Linked DNA regions of Homo sapiens: all the other regions are linked to region 1. The links are contacts of gene promoters, found by promoter capture Hi-C in blood cells and fetal thymus (Javierre and others, 2016). All regions are on one chromosome and are shown on one strand. Each heading gives the region's core, a stretch centred on a gene start or on the middle of the fragment in contact. The rest is flanking DNA. Distances are from core to core; before and after follow the strand shown. Region 1 holds the start of MPEG1 (macrophage expressed 1). Region 2 has its middle 24 kb from the start of OR5AN1. Region 3 has its middle 18 kb from the start of OR5A2.

Region 1 (4,284 bases), core at 1,199-3,698:
GGACATCTGCTTCCTATTTTAGTCCCAGAATCACTTTTGCTTCTAGTCCCAACTGTTCCCTCTCCCCAATCCCAACCTTATCCATGTAACAGTATGAATTTCCTGGCCCAGAGACCTAAACAAGAAGTCACGAATATACCTACTTTTGGTTGCACTTGCCATTTCAATGCTTAGGAAAACAGAGTGGTCAGCAATGACCACACTGGAGATGAGAGAAACCATTTTCGGGGAGAGATTTAAGCTGGACTCTGCCCCTGCTCTTGGTAAGTGGTGTCTCCAGTTGCTGCAGTGCCTGGAACCAAACTCTGCCTTTCCTCAATTGCCTGATATGCTTTCTTCTTGAACTTCCGGGTGCCGTAGATGGCCAAGGTGATAACAACAGCCAGAATGGTGGTGACCCCCACTGTGACCCCAGCTGCAGCCCCTCCTGACAGACCACCACCATCCCCATGGATGACATTCATGGCCCTCCGCAGCTCTATCGGTTCTCCCAGCCTCCACTGGTGGGTCTGGGAGTCTTTAATCCAGGATCTCGCATTCTCAGAATTGGTCACTATGACAGTATTGGTGGCAGCCTGACTCATGAGGGGTGGCCGGGTGAAAGGTGGGAGCCTGGCAGGGGGCAGGGACCCTCCTGTGAAGAGCCCGGATTTGACGCAATAGGACACTTGGCATCCATCGCTGATGAGGGCTGGGTGCTGGCTGAAGCCCCCGGGGCACTTTTTCAGAGACGGTGCCCCTAAATCTCTGGATATAGCAGGATCTACCAGGGGGTTCCCAACTGTGCAGCTAAAGAACCCGCCAAAGGGGACCGCAAACCTGCTTCCCAACTCATAGTCCTGAGAAACACATACCTTGAGGTTTTCAAAGAGTCTCAGTGGAAAGTAGCCGGCTGGGCATGACTGTGCATTTGTCATGGGGTTTATGCTCTTGCTGCTGAAGAGGCCCCCAAAAAGCAGTCCTGAGTTTTCAGGTACTTGGCTGCTGGCCACACACCAAAAAGCCCTAAATTCAGCTTTTGCCACCTGGAACACATCTTCACACACGGTCTTGCAGAAGACGAGGAGAGTGCACTTTCGATGACACTCCAGGTGGTTGTAACCCTCCTCGTGGATCTGGGATAACAGGTGCACCGGGGAGTAGCCAGAGGGGCAGGAGAAATCACCAGTGAGTGGATTCTTCTGCTCCAACTTTTGGCAGAGGAGGACATCCCTATTCCCTGAGAGCTGAGTGCATTCCTGATAAACCCCACCGAAAGAGAAGTTGGTCATTTTCCCCTCGCAGGAGCCATCATCCGTGTTGGCCTGAAAATTGAAGTTGGGAGAATTGAGATCTGTGCAGCCAGGGTAGGTGTTGAATGTATAATAGCGCTTCACAGCAGTTTCCACTGTCTTTGACACCTTCTTCACCAGGGGGCCTGGCAAGTCAGGTAGCATGTTGGGGTTGATGAAGAAATGCAGCGGCAGGCCAGAGCGGTCGATGGCCACCAGGTGGTTGGTGATACCCTGCTGCCAGGCCTGGAGGGTGATGCCTGGGTAAAAAGGAACCCCTCCAATGCTCTGCACCCTGGAGTTGGTTCGGTTTGAGAGGTAGCTCTTGGTGAGGACATTCTGCGAGGTATAGTTTTCCTCAAATTTGAAGTTCACGGTGTTTTGAAAGGCAAGTCCAGCAGAGGCGGTCACGGCACTACGACTGCTCTGGCTGTCTTGGAGGAAGGAGGCCCTGAGGTGGTCCTCCTGAATAAGAGCAGCCCCAGCGTCGACACTGGTGGTGACGTGGGTGCCATAGTTGAGCACCAGGAGTTCTGCCAGGTAGGTGGCCATCCTCGTCTGGTTGTTCTCTAGACGGTCAGAGATGTCAAGGAGTTCCTTCCTAAAACCTGAGCTTAGCTCTAAAGTTGGGTTGATTTTGACTGTGTAGACGAGGTTTCTTACCTGAACTCGGGTAGTTATAGCTTGGTCCTTCACTTGGAGGGTCTTCATCCTCTGGAACTCAGTGGAAAACTTGCCATTGACTTTGGAAAAAAGAGAGAGTTCTGTGTTGATGGAGTAGGAGGTGCTACTCTGGTAATTTGCCCAGGATTCCAGGATTTCTGAGTTCATCTCCAGGTTGCTCTGTTTCTGGGGAATGGTGAAGATTTCATCAGGGATGATATACTGTCCATCCTCTGTTGTCCTGCAGTTGGAGTAAGTCAATTCCATAACTCGTCCCATGTCCACATTCCGCAGATTGTCCCAGCCCCCTCCAGGTAGGACTTCCAGGACAGGTAGTTTCAAGGCATTCTTGCATTTTTGAACTCCAACTTCGTCCATCTCTCCCGAAGGCTTGCCTGATTTAGCCCATGCTGCCGCTGCCCAGAAGAGGATGGTGGCCCTGAAGTTGTTCATGGCTCAGACAGCCCCAGCCACTCACCAGCCCTACACAGCGGCCAGCAAGCTTTGGGCAAACTAAGATGGAGAAAACAGAAGCAGATGATGAAGCGGAAAACTCATGAGTTCTCTAAAAGCTACAAGTTCCTCTTTAAGCTAATTTAATGACAAAATGGGGAAACGAGAGTTGGTTGGAATATTAAAGACCATCAGGTCTTTGAAGAATTTATGCCGTACTAAACATGCAAACACACCCCTACATGCCTAACAGGTAGCTATCCTAATTTTTCCCCCAGCTCTGGCTGGTTACTCTGCTGCAGGGGTGTGCACTTAGAAAAAAATCCCGACCCCACACCCTACTGCTTCCTCCACCAGAAAGTTTGGCTTTGCTTTTTGCTCATTCTCTTGGACTTGATGTTTCATATTTTCCCTGACTGCTGTCTCTTGGGACTCCATTATCAGTTTTCTTTTACTATAAATGCAGAGGCAAATGACCACACCACCCTTACTGAAACACCCTGGCTCCACCATACCTATGCAAGCTGTTAGTCAAGGCCAACCCTGGGTTTCCTCTTTGCCTGAGGGTGGAGGCTGTTTCCACAAAAGAAAGGAGTGAAACTCTTGGACACTTGTCCTGTGGGTTTCACTGTTATGAACCATAGCAATTCTGTCTTTGGGGATGGCATTGTCTGGAGCACAGCTGACAGGGCCTGAAGAGGATTCGGTTGCAATATGCTGGGAAACCCCAATTTGCATTGTCCTAAGCATTCAAAGCGAGGGCAAGGAACTCCTACACTGTGTTGTTTTCATTCAGATAGAAATGTTCAAGACAAAACCACACTATTATCTAGATTTTGATTTATCAACAGCAGACAGGGGCCAAGGAACATATGTGTATGTGTACACACATTTATATATCCTCTGTGTGTGTGCATTTTGTATGAAGTTGGTACCTGTTATACCTTTAATTTTTTGTTCCATTGCTAAGTGTGTGTAATCAGTTTAGGTGGATAAAAAAGAATGTGGCTCTTCACTACCCAATATTTTTTCTAAAAGCAAAAATTCATTTGCTATATCATTAGAAGAATATAATTACATGAGTTTCTTTTCAAGTTCCAATGCCAGCTCTATTAGAGCCCATAATTTAAAACAATGGTGACAGGTTTGATTGAAACCCAACTCTGTTAATTCTTTGGGACAATTAGGCTATGTCTTAGTATGCTTAGTGGTAGCCAGGGAATCCAGAGGACTTAGTGAAGCTCCCAGTTGCATCCTTAACATTCCCAAGATTATACCATGAACTAGATACAGTACTGAGACTGAAAAAGTCATGTTGCAATTCACAGGTATCACTACACCATCACCTGTATGCATCCTGGAAGGAAGGTTCCAAGGAGTTGAATTCCTCTGTTGGTTATTAATGCAGCAAAGAAGTGTTTTTAGAAAGAATGAGGCTAGTTATCTTGCTTCCCAGGCTGGGCTTCACCAGTTATTATCAAAACCATGATGGTGTTCTATAAATCTAGAAATACTGCATTCCGGGTATATTTTTTTTTCCAAGACAGGGTCTTGCTTATTGCCCAGGCTTGAGTGCAGTAGCTATTCACAGGCATGGTCCCACTACTAATCAGCATAGGAGTTTTGACCTGCTCCATTTCCAACCTGGACCCGTTTAGCCCTCCTTAGGCAACCTGGTGATTTGCTCCAAGGAGGCCACCATATTGATGCTGAGCTTAGTGCAGACACCCAACTGGCATAGCACACTACAGCCCAGAACTCATGGATTCAAGCAATCCTCCCACATCAGCTTCCCAGGAATCTGGGACTGCAGTCATGCACCACCACACCTGGCCATTCTGGTTCTATTTGTGCCACAGTTATCATGCTTCTGGGAAGTGACACCAGCCACCTAAGA
Region 2 (4,095 bases), core at 308-2,807, 170 kb after region 1:
CTGTATACAGAATTCTTGGCTACTAGTTTGCTTTTTTTCTTTCAACACTTGGAATACGTCATTTCACTACCTTCTTACCAGCAAAGTTTCTGCTGATAAGTCTGCTGTTATTCTGAAGTAGTTTCCTTTGTAGATGACTAGATGTTTTTCTCTTGCCAATTTTAGAATTTGTTCATTCATATGATTTTAGATAGTCTAATAATATGCTATGGCAAACTCATTTAGGCATTGTAATTTTCTGGGGATCACTGAGCTTCTTTTATTCAGATGTCTGAATTTCTTGATACACTTGGGAGGTTTTTATACATTATTTCATTAATAAATTTCTTAACCTTTTTTCCTCAGGAATACCAATAATTTATTATTTAGGTCATTTTAGATAGTCTTAAAAGTCTTGAAGGCTTTGTTTATTCTATTTTATTTTTATCTGACTGTATTATATTTTTAAAACCTATCTTCAAGTTCTGATTCTTCCTTGTGCTTAATCTAGTCTATTCTTGAAGGCTTCAAATGTATTTTGTAATTCTTGCAATAAAATTTTCAGTTCTAGAATTACTGTTTTTTTTTAAGATATCTATCTCCTTGGTAAATTACTCATTCATATCTTAAAATGATTTTCTGATTTCTTTGTATTGATTTTCAGATTTCTCTTGAAGTTCATTGAGCTTCTTTAAAATCAATATTTTGAATTTTTATCTGGAAATTTTAGAATTTATTTGTGTTCAGCACTTATTGCTGGAGAATTATTGTGGTTTTTTGAGGGTGTGGTTTTTTATTATACTTGAAGTTTTAGGGTACAAGTGCACAATGTGCAGGTTTGTTACATATGTATACATGTGCCATGTTGGTGTGCTGCACCCATTAACTTGTCATTCAACATTAGGTATATCTCCTAATGCTATCCCTCCCCCCTCCCCCCACCCCACAACAGGTCCCGGTGTGTGATGTTCCCCTTCCTGTGTCCATGTGTTCTCATTGTTCAATTCCCACCTATGAGTAAGAACATGCAGTGTTTGATTTTTTGTCCTTGTGATAGTTTGCTGAGAATGATGGTTTCCAGCTTCATCCATGTCCCTACAAAGGACATGAACTCATCATTTTTTATGGCTGCATAGTAATCAATGGTGTATATGTGCCACATTTTCTTAATCCCGTCTATCATTGTTGGACATTTGGGTTGTTTCCAAGTCTTTGCTATTGTGAATAGTGCCACAATAAACATACATGTGCATGTGTCTTTACAGCAGCAGGATTTATAATCCTTTGGGTATATACCCAGTAATGGGTTTACTGGGTCAAATGGTATTTCTAGTTCTAGATCCCTGAGGAATCGCCACACTGACTTCCACAATGGTTGAACTAGTTTACAGTCCTACCAACAATGTAAAATTGTTCCTATTTCTCCACATCCTCTCCGGCACCTGTGGTTTCCTGACTTTTTAATGATTGCCATTCTAACTGGTGTGAGATGGTATCTCATTGTGGTTTTGATTTGCATTTCTCTATGGCCAGTGATAATGGGCATTTTTTCATGTGTCTTTTGGCTGCATAAATGTCTTCTTTTGAGAAGTGTCTGTTCATATACTTCACCCACTTTTTGATGGGGTTGTTTGTTTTTTCTTATAAATTTGTTTGAGTTCATTGTAGATTCTGGATATTAGCCCTTTGTCAGATGAGTAGATTGCAAAATTTTCTCCCATTCTGTAGGTTGCTATTGACTCTGATGGTAGTTTCTTTTGCTGTGCAGAAGCTCTTTAGTTTAATTAGATCCCATTTGTCAATTTTGGCTTTTGTTGCCATTCCTTTTGGTGTTTCAGTCATGAAGTCCTTGCCCATGCCTATGTCCTGAATGGTATTGGCTAGGTTTTCTTGTAGGGTTTTTATGGTTTCAGGTCTCACATTTAAGTCTTTAATCCATCTTGAATTAATTTTTGTATAAGGTGTAAGGAAGGGATCCAGTTTCAGCTTTCTACATATGGCTAGCCAGTTTTCCCAGCACCATTTATTAAATAGGGAATCCTTTCCCCAGTTCTTGTTTTTGTCAGCTTTGTCAAAGATCAGATGGTAGTAGATATGTGGCATTATTTCTGAGGGCTCTGTTCTGTTCCATTGGTCTATATCTCTGTTTTGGTACCAGTACCATGCTGTTTTGTTTATTGTAGCCCTGTAGTATAGTTTGAAGTCAGGTAGTGTGATGCCTCCAGCTTTGTTCTTTTGGCTTAGGATTGACTTGGCGATGTGGGCTCTTTTTTGGTTCCATATGAACTTTAAAGTAGTTTTTTCCAATTCTGTGAAGAAAGTCATTGGTAGCTTGATGGGGATGGCATTGAATCTATAAATTACCTTGGGCAGTATGGCCATTTTCACAATATTGATTCTTCCTACCCATGAGCATGGAAAGTTCTTCCATTTGTTTGTATCCTCTTTTATTTCATTGAGTAGTGGTTTGTAGTTCTCCTTGAAGAGGTCCTTCATGTCCCTTGTAAGTTGGATTCCTAGGTATTTTACTCTCTTTGAAGCAATTGTGAATGGGAGTTCAATCATGATTTGGCTGTCTGTTTGTCTGTTATTGGTGTATAAGAATGCTTGTGATTTTTGCACATTGGTTTTGTATCCTGAGACTTTGCTGAAATTACCTATCAGCTTAAGGAGATTTTGGGCTGAGACGATGTGGTTTTCTAGATATACAATTATGTCATCTGCAAACAGGGACAGTTTGACTTCCTCTTTTCCTAATTGAATACCCTTTATTTCCTTCTCCTGCCTGATTGCCCTGGCCAGAACTTCCAACACTATGTTGAATAGGAGTGGTGAGAGAGGGCATCCCTGTCTTGTGCCAGTTTTCAAAGGGAATGCTTCCAGTTTTTGCCCATTCAGTATGATATTGGCTGTGGGTTTGTCATAGATAGCTCTTATTATTTTGAGATACATCCCATCAATACCTAATTTATTGAGAGTTTTTAGCATGAAGGTTGTTGAATTTTGTCAAAGGCCATTTCTGCATCTATTGAGATAATCATACGGTTTTTGTCATTGGTTCTTTTTATATGCTGGGTTACGTTTATTGATTTTCATATGTTGAACAGCTTTGCACCCCAGGGATGAAGTCCACTTGATCATGGTGGATAAGCTTTTTGATGTGCTGCTGGATTCGGTTTGCCAGTATTTTATTGAGGATTTTTACATCGATGTTCATCAGGGATATCAGTCTAAAATTCTCTTTTTTTATTGTGTCTATGCCAGGCTTTGGGATCATGATGATGCTGGCTTCGTAAAATGAGTTAGGGAGGATTCTCTCTTTTTCTACTGATTGGAATAGTTTCAGAAAGAATGGTACCAGCTCCTCCTTGTACCTCTGGTAGAATTCGGCTGTGAATCCATCTGGTCCTGTACTTTTTTTGGTTGGTAAGCTATTAATTATTGCCTCAATTTCAGAGCCTGTTATTGGTCTATTCAGAGATTCAACTCCTTCCTTGTTTAGTCTTGGGAGGTTGTATGTGTCCAGGAATTTATCCATTTCTTCTAGGTTTTCTGGTTTATTTGCATAGAGGTGTTTATACTATTCTCTGATGTTTGTTTGTATTTCTGTGGGATCAGTGGTGATATCCCCTTTATCATTTTTTATTGCATCTGTTTGATTCTTCTCTGTTTTCTTCTTTATTAGTTTTGCTAACAGTCTATCAATTTTGTTGACCTTTTCAAAAAACCAGCTCCTGGATTCATTGATTTTTTGAACGGTTTTTTGTGTCTCTATTTCCTTCAGTTCTGCTCTGATCTTAGTTATTTCTTGCCTTCTGCTAGCTTTTGAATGTGTTTGGTCTTGCTTCTCTAGTTCTTTTATTTGTGATGTTAGGGTGTCAATTTTAGGTTTAGATCTTTCCTACTTTCTCTTGTGGGCATTTAGTGCTATAAATTTCCCTCTGCACACTGCTTTGAATGTGTCCCAGAGGTTCTGGTATGTTGTGTCTTTGTTCTCATTGGTTTCAAAGAACATCTTTATTCCTGCCTTCATTTTGTTATTTACCCAGTAGTCATTCAGGAGCAAGTTGTTCAGTTTCCATATAGTTGAGTAGTTTTAAGTGAGTTTCTTAATCC
Region 3 (3,776 bases), core at 1,128-3,627, 200 kb after region 1:
CTAGGAAAAGAGGAAGTCAAATTGTCCCTGTTTGCAGACGACATGATTGTATATCTAGAAAACCCCATTGTCTCAGTCCAAAATCACCTTAAGCTGATAAGCAACTTCAGCAAAGTCTCAGAATACAAAATCAATGTACAAAAATCACAAGCATTCTTATATACCAATAACAGACAAACAGAGAACCAAATCATGAGTGAATTCCCATTCACAATTGCTTCAAAGAGAATCAAATACCTAGGAATCCAACTTACAAGGGATGTGAAGGACCTCTGCAAGGAGAACTAGGCGAACTACAAACCACTGCTCAATGAAATAAAAGAGGATACAAACAAATGGAAGAACATTCCATGCTCATGGATTGGAAGAATCAATATCATGAAAATGGCCATACTGCCCAAGGTAATTTATAGATTCAATGCCATCCCCATCAAGCTACCGATGACTTTCTTCACAGAATTGGAAAAAACTACTTTAAAGTTCATATGGAACCAAAAAAGAGCCCGCATCGCCAAGTCAATCCTAAGCCAAAAGAACAAAGCTGGAGGCATCACACTACCTGACTTCAAACTATACTACAAGGCTACAGTCACCAAAACAGCATGGTACTGGTACCAAAACAGAAATATTGATCAATGGAACAGAACAGAGCCTTCAGAAATAACACCAAATATCTACAACCATCTGATCTTTGACAAACCTGAGAAAGACAAGCAATGGGGAAAGGATTCCCTATTTAATAAATGGTGCTGGAAAAACTAGCTAGCCATATGTAGAAAGCTGAAACTGGATCCCTTCCTTACACCTTATACAAAAATCAATTCAAGATGGATTAAAGACTTAAACGTTAGACCTAAAACCATAAAAACCCTAGAAGAAAACCTAGGCATTACCATTCAGGACATAGGCATGGGCAAGGACTTCATGTCTAAAACACCAAAAGCAATGGCAACAAAAGACAAAATTGATAAATGGGATCTAATTAAACTAAAGAGCTTCTGCACAGCAAAAGAAACTACCATCAGACTGAACAGGCAACCTACAAAATGGGAGAAAATTTTCGCAACCTACTCATCTGACAAAGGGCTAATATCCAGAATATACAATGAACTCAAACAAATTTACAAGAAAAAACAAACAACCCCATCAAAAAGTGGGCAAAGGACATGAACAGACACCTCTCAAAAGAAGACATTTATGCAGCCAAAAAACACATGAAAAAATGCTCACCATCACTGGCCATCAGAGAAATGCAAATCAAAACCACAATGAGATATCATCTCACGTCAGTTAGAATGGCAATCATTAAAAAGTCAGGAAACAACAGGTGCTGGAGAGGATGTGGAGAAATAGGAACACTTTTACACTGTTGGTGGGACTGTAAACTAGTTCAACCATTGTGGAAGTCAGTGTGGTGGTTATTCAGGGATCTAGAACTAGAAATACCATTTGATCCAGCCATCCCATTACTGGGTATATACCCAAAGGACTATAAATCATGCTGTTATAAAGACACATGCACACGTATGTTTATTGTGGCACTATTCACAAAAGCAAAGACTTGGAACCAACCCAAATGTCCAACAATGACAGACTGGATTAAGAAAATGTGGCACATATACACCATGGAATACTATGCAGCCATAAAAAATGATGAGTTCATGTCCTTTGTAGGGACATGGATGAAATTGGAAATCATCATTCTCAGTAAACTATTGCAAGAACAAAAAACCAAACACCGCATATTCTCACTCATAGGTGGGAATTGAACAATGAGAACATATGGACACAGGAAGGGGAACATCACACTCTGTGGACTGTTGTGGGCTGGGGGGAGAGGGGAGGGATAGCATTGGGAGATATACCTAATGCTAGATGACGAGTTAGTGGGTGCAGCGCACCAGCATGGCCCATGTATACATATGTAACTAACATGCACATTGTGCACATGTACCCTAAAACTTAAAGTATAATAATAAAAAAAAAGAGTTCTGCATGCCATGACTCATCCTGAAAAAGATAAAATAACCCAAATTAAATACATATTGGTGTGGTGACTTTTAAATTGCTAAAATAGTTTATGACCAATGTTTGGTTTGTCAAACCCATATTCCTGGGAAGATAATCAAAGCTTCAGGTACATTTGGCTACCTAATGGGCCATTTAAACATGTATAGAGAGACTTCATTTGATTATCATTTTCAATGCATGTTTTCCAGTTGTATAAAAGCTTTCCCATGCAAGAGGTCTGATGTTATAACAGTATATTATGATGTCACAGTATATTCTCACCAGGTAAAGAAAGATTTTTATGGTTCACTGACTGGGGACAATCAACCCCTTCACAATCTAGAACCTGAAGATTGGATCTTCTGAAAACATCAGAAAAAGACTGCCCTTGCCATCCATATTGCAGCAAACTTTGAAACCTTGAACTTTGGGTTAATAATCTTACAACTGAGAAAGGCCCCTCCACACTCTTAGAACCTCACATGCATTGGAACCCTTAAGGTAAAGCTAACTGGGAAGCTTCTCCTCAGAAGAAGATGGCATCCTTGATGTGAACAGCTTCTCCTGAGATCATGGATCAAGACATCTGTACTATAATGATGCTTATTTTTGAATATTTTCCCTTGCTTATGCCTCCATGAACAATAGAAGTGAAAAGGGGGTCTGTTGTGTGCACTCATGGGGTATATTTTTATTTGTGAAGGATTTTGCAGCCAGTCTTTTACATGGATAACCTTACACAGATAAAAGATAAAGGCCCCAATGTAGGTGAGAAATTTTAATGGTACATACATTGCCCCATAATCAGAAAGGGAACAGTGGTTCACTCCTCCTAACCTACATCATGGCTTAAAGAGAACATTGCCAGGAGGCCTTCACTCTTCTAGAAGGGCATCAATTGTTAAGTCCTCTTTCCCATGGTTTGGAGTGATAAAGGAAATGATTAGAAATGTGTCTCTCATGATAGGCTCTATAAAAGATTCTACTGTAAAGGCTATCATTACACAACAGACTTTACATTCTCTTGTGAAAGTTATGCTAAATAATAGAATTGCTCTAGATTACTTACTGGCTAAACAGAAATATCTGTGCAGCCACTGCCATTTGTGGCCTATGGTGAAATACATCAAATGTAGATTATAGAGATTCAGTTGTAGGGGGTTAATGAAGAGACTGCTTACTTAAGTGAGTGAACTCTAGCTAGTTCTTTGATCTATTTGATTTCAGGTAGTTTGGTTTATGGGGACTCTGAGTAAGAAGCATAATCCAAAATCTTGGTATTATCCTCCTGATAGTCATAATAGCAGTCTTCTTGGTGGGCTATGTTCTCTCAAAAGTTTTAAAGGTTTGCATGCAGCCGTCTCTGGAATGTCTCTTCAACTGGAATGATAAGAGCTGACAGAAATGTGTGACCATGAGGACACTGTAACCTATGAATGACATGCTGAGACCAGAAACCAAAAACGACGGTAACTGAGAGTGGAGCTAAGGCCCTAAGTTTTGTCACACTCTCACCTACATGAGAACCTGACCAAAAAAGGGGAATTTTTAAACAAAATTATGGGAGGCCATTGTTTTGGACTGAGCTCATGCAGTAGGCCCCAAGAAACCAGACCAAACCAAAATGGAGTCACTCATGCTAAATGTGACATAATCAAACTAAGACTTTAAGGAAACACCTAGATCCTACAACAGACAAGGGGTTTTTTCATGTAAACAGGACATTCCAGCATAAGGAGGAACCTTCTACTGAATCCTTGTTCCTA

The links. Contacts are between HindIII fragments. The CHiCAGO score rates a contact against its expected background, and 5 or more counts as called.
Region 2: a fragment that was not itself captured here is called in contact with the fragment with the promoter of MPEG1 in region 1 in 2 of 17 cell types (naive B cells and total B cells); the score reaches 9.1 in naive B cells.
Region 3: a fragment that was not itself captured here is called in contact with the fragment with the promoter of MPEG1 in region 1 in 2 of 17 cell types (total B cells and naive B cells); the score reaches 5.6 in total B cells.

What each region holds. Positions count from the first base shown.
Region 1 is chr11:59,210,479-59,214,762 of GRCh38, forward strand. MPEG1 (macrophage expressed 1) reads right to left here and starts at 2,449. Exons shown (of 1, transcript NM_001039396.2): 1 at 1-2,449. The coding sequence starts at 2,387. The coding sequence ends at 237. It also overlaps the pseudogene RN7SL42P. RefSeq lists an enhancer at 2,426-2,625. The HindIII fragment of the contact is 5,135 bases long and covers 2,435-4,284 here.
Region 2 is chr11:59,380,887-59,384,981 of GRCh38, forward strand. No RefSeq gene overlaps it. Among named protein-coding and RNA genes, the nearest start is that of OR5AN1, 24 kb to the left of the region's middle. The HindIII fragment of the contact is 3,141 bases long and covers 1-3,128 here.
Region 3 is chr11:59,406,057-59,409,832 of GRCh38, forward strand. No RefSeq gene overlaps it. Among named protein-coding and RNA genes, the nearest start is that of OR5A2, 18 kb to the right of the region's middle. The HindIII fragment of the contact is 299 bases long and covers 2,229-2,527 here.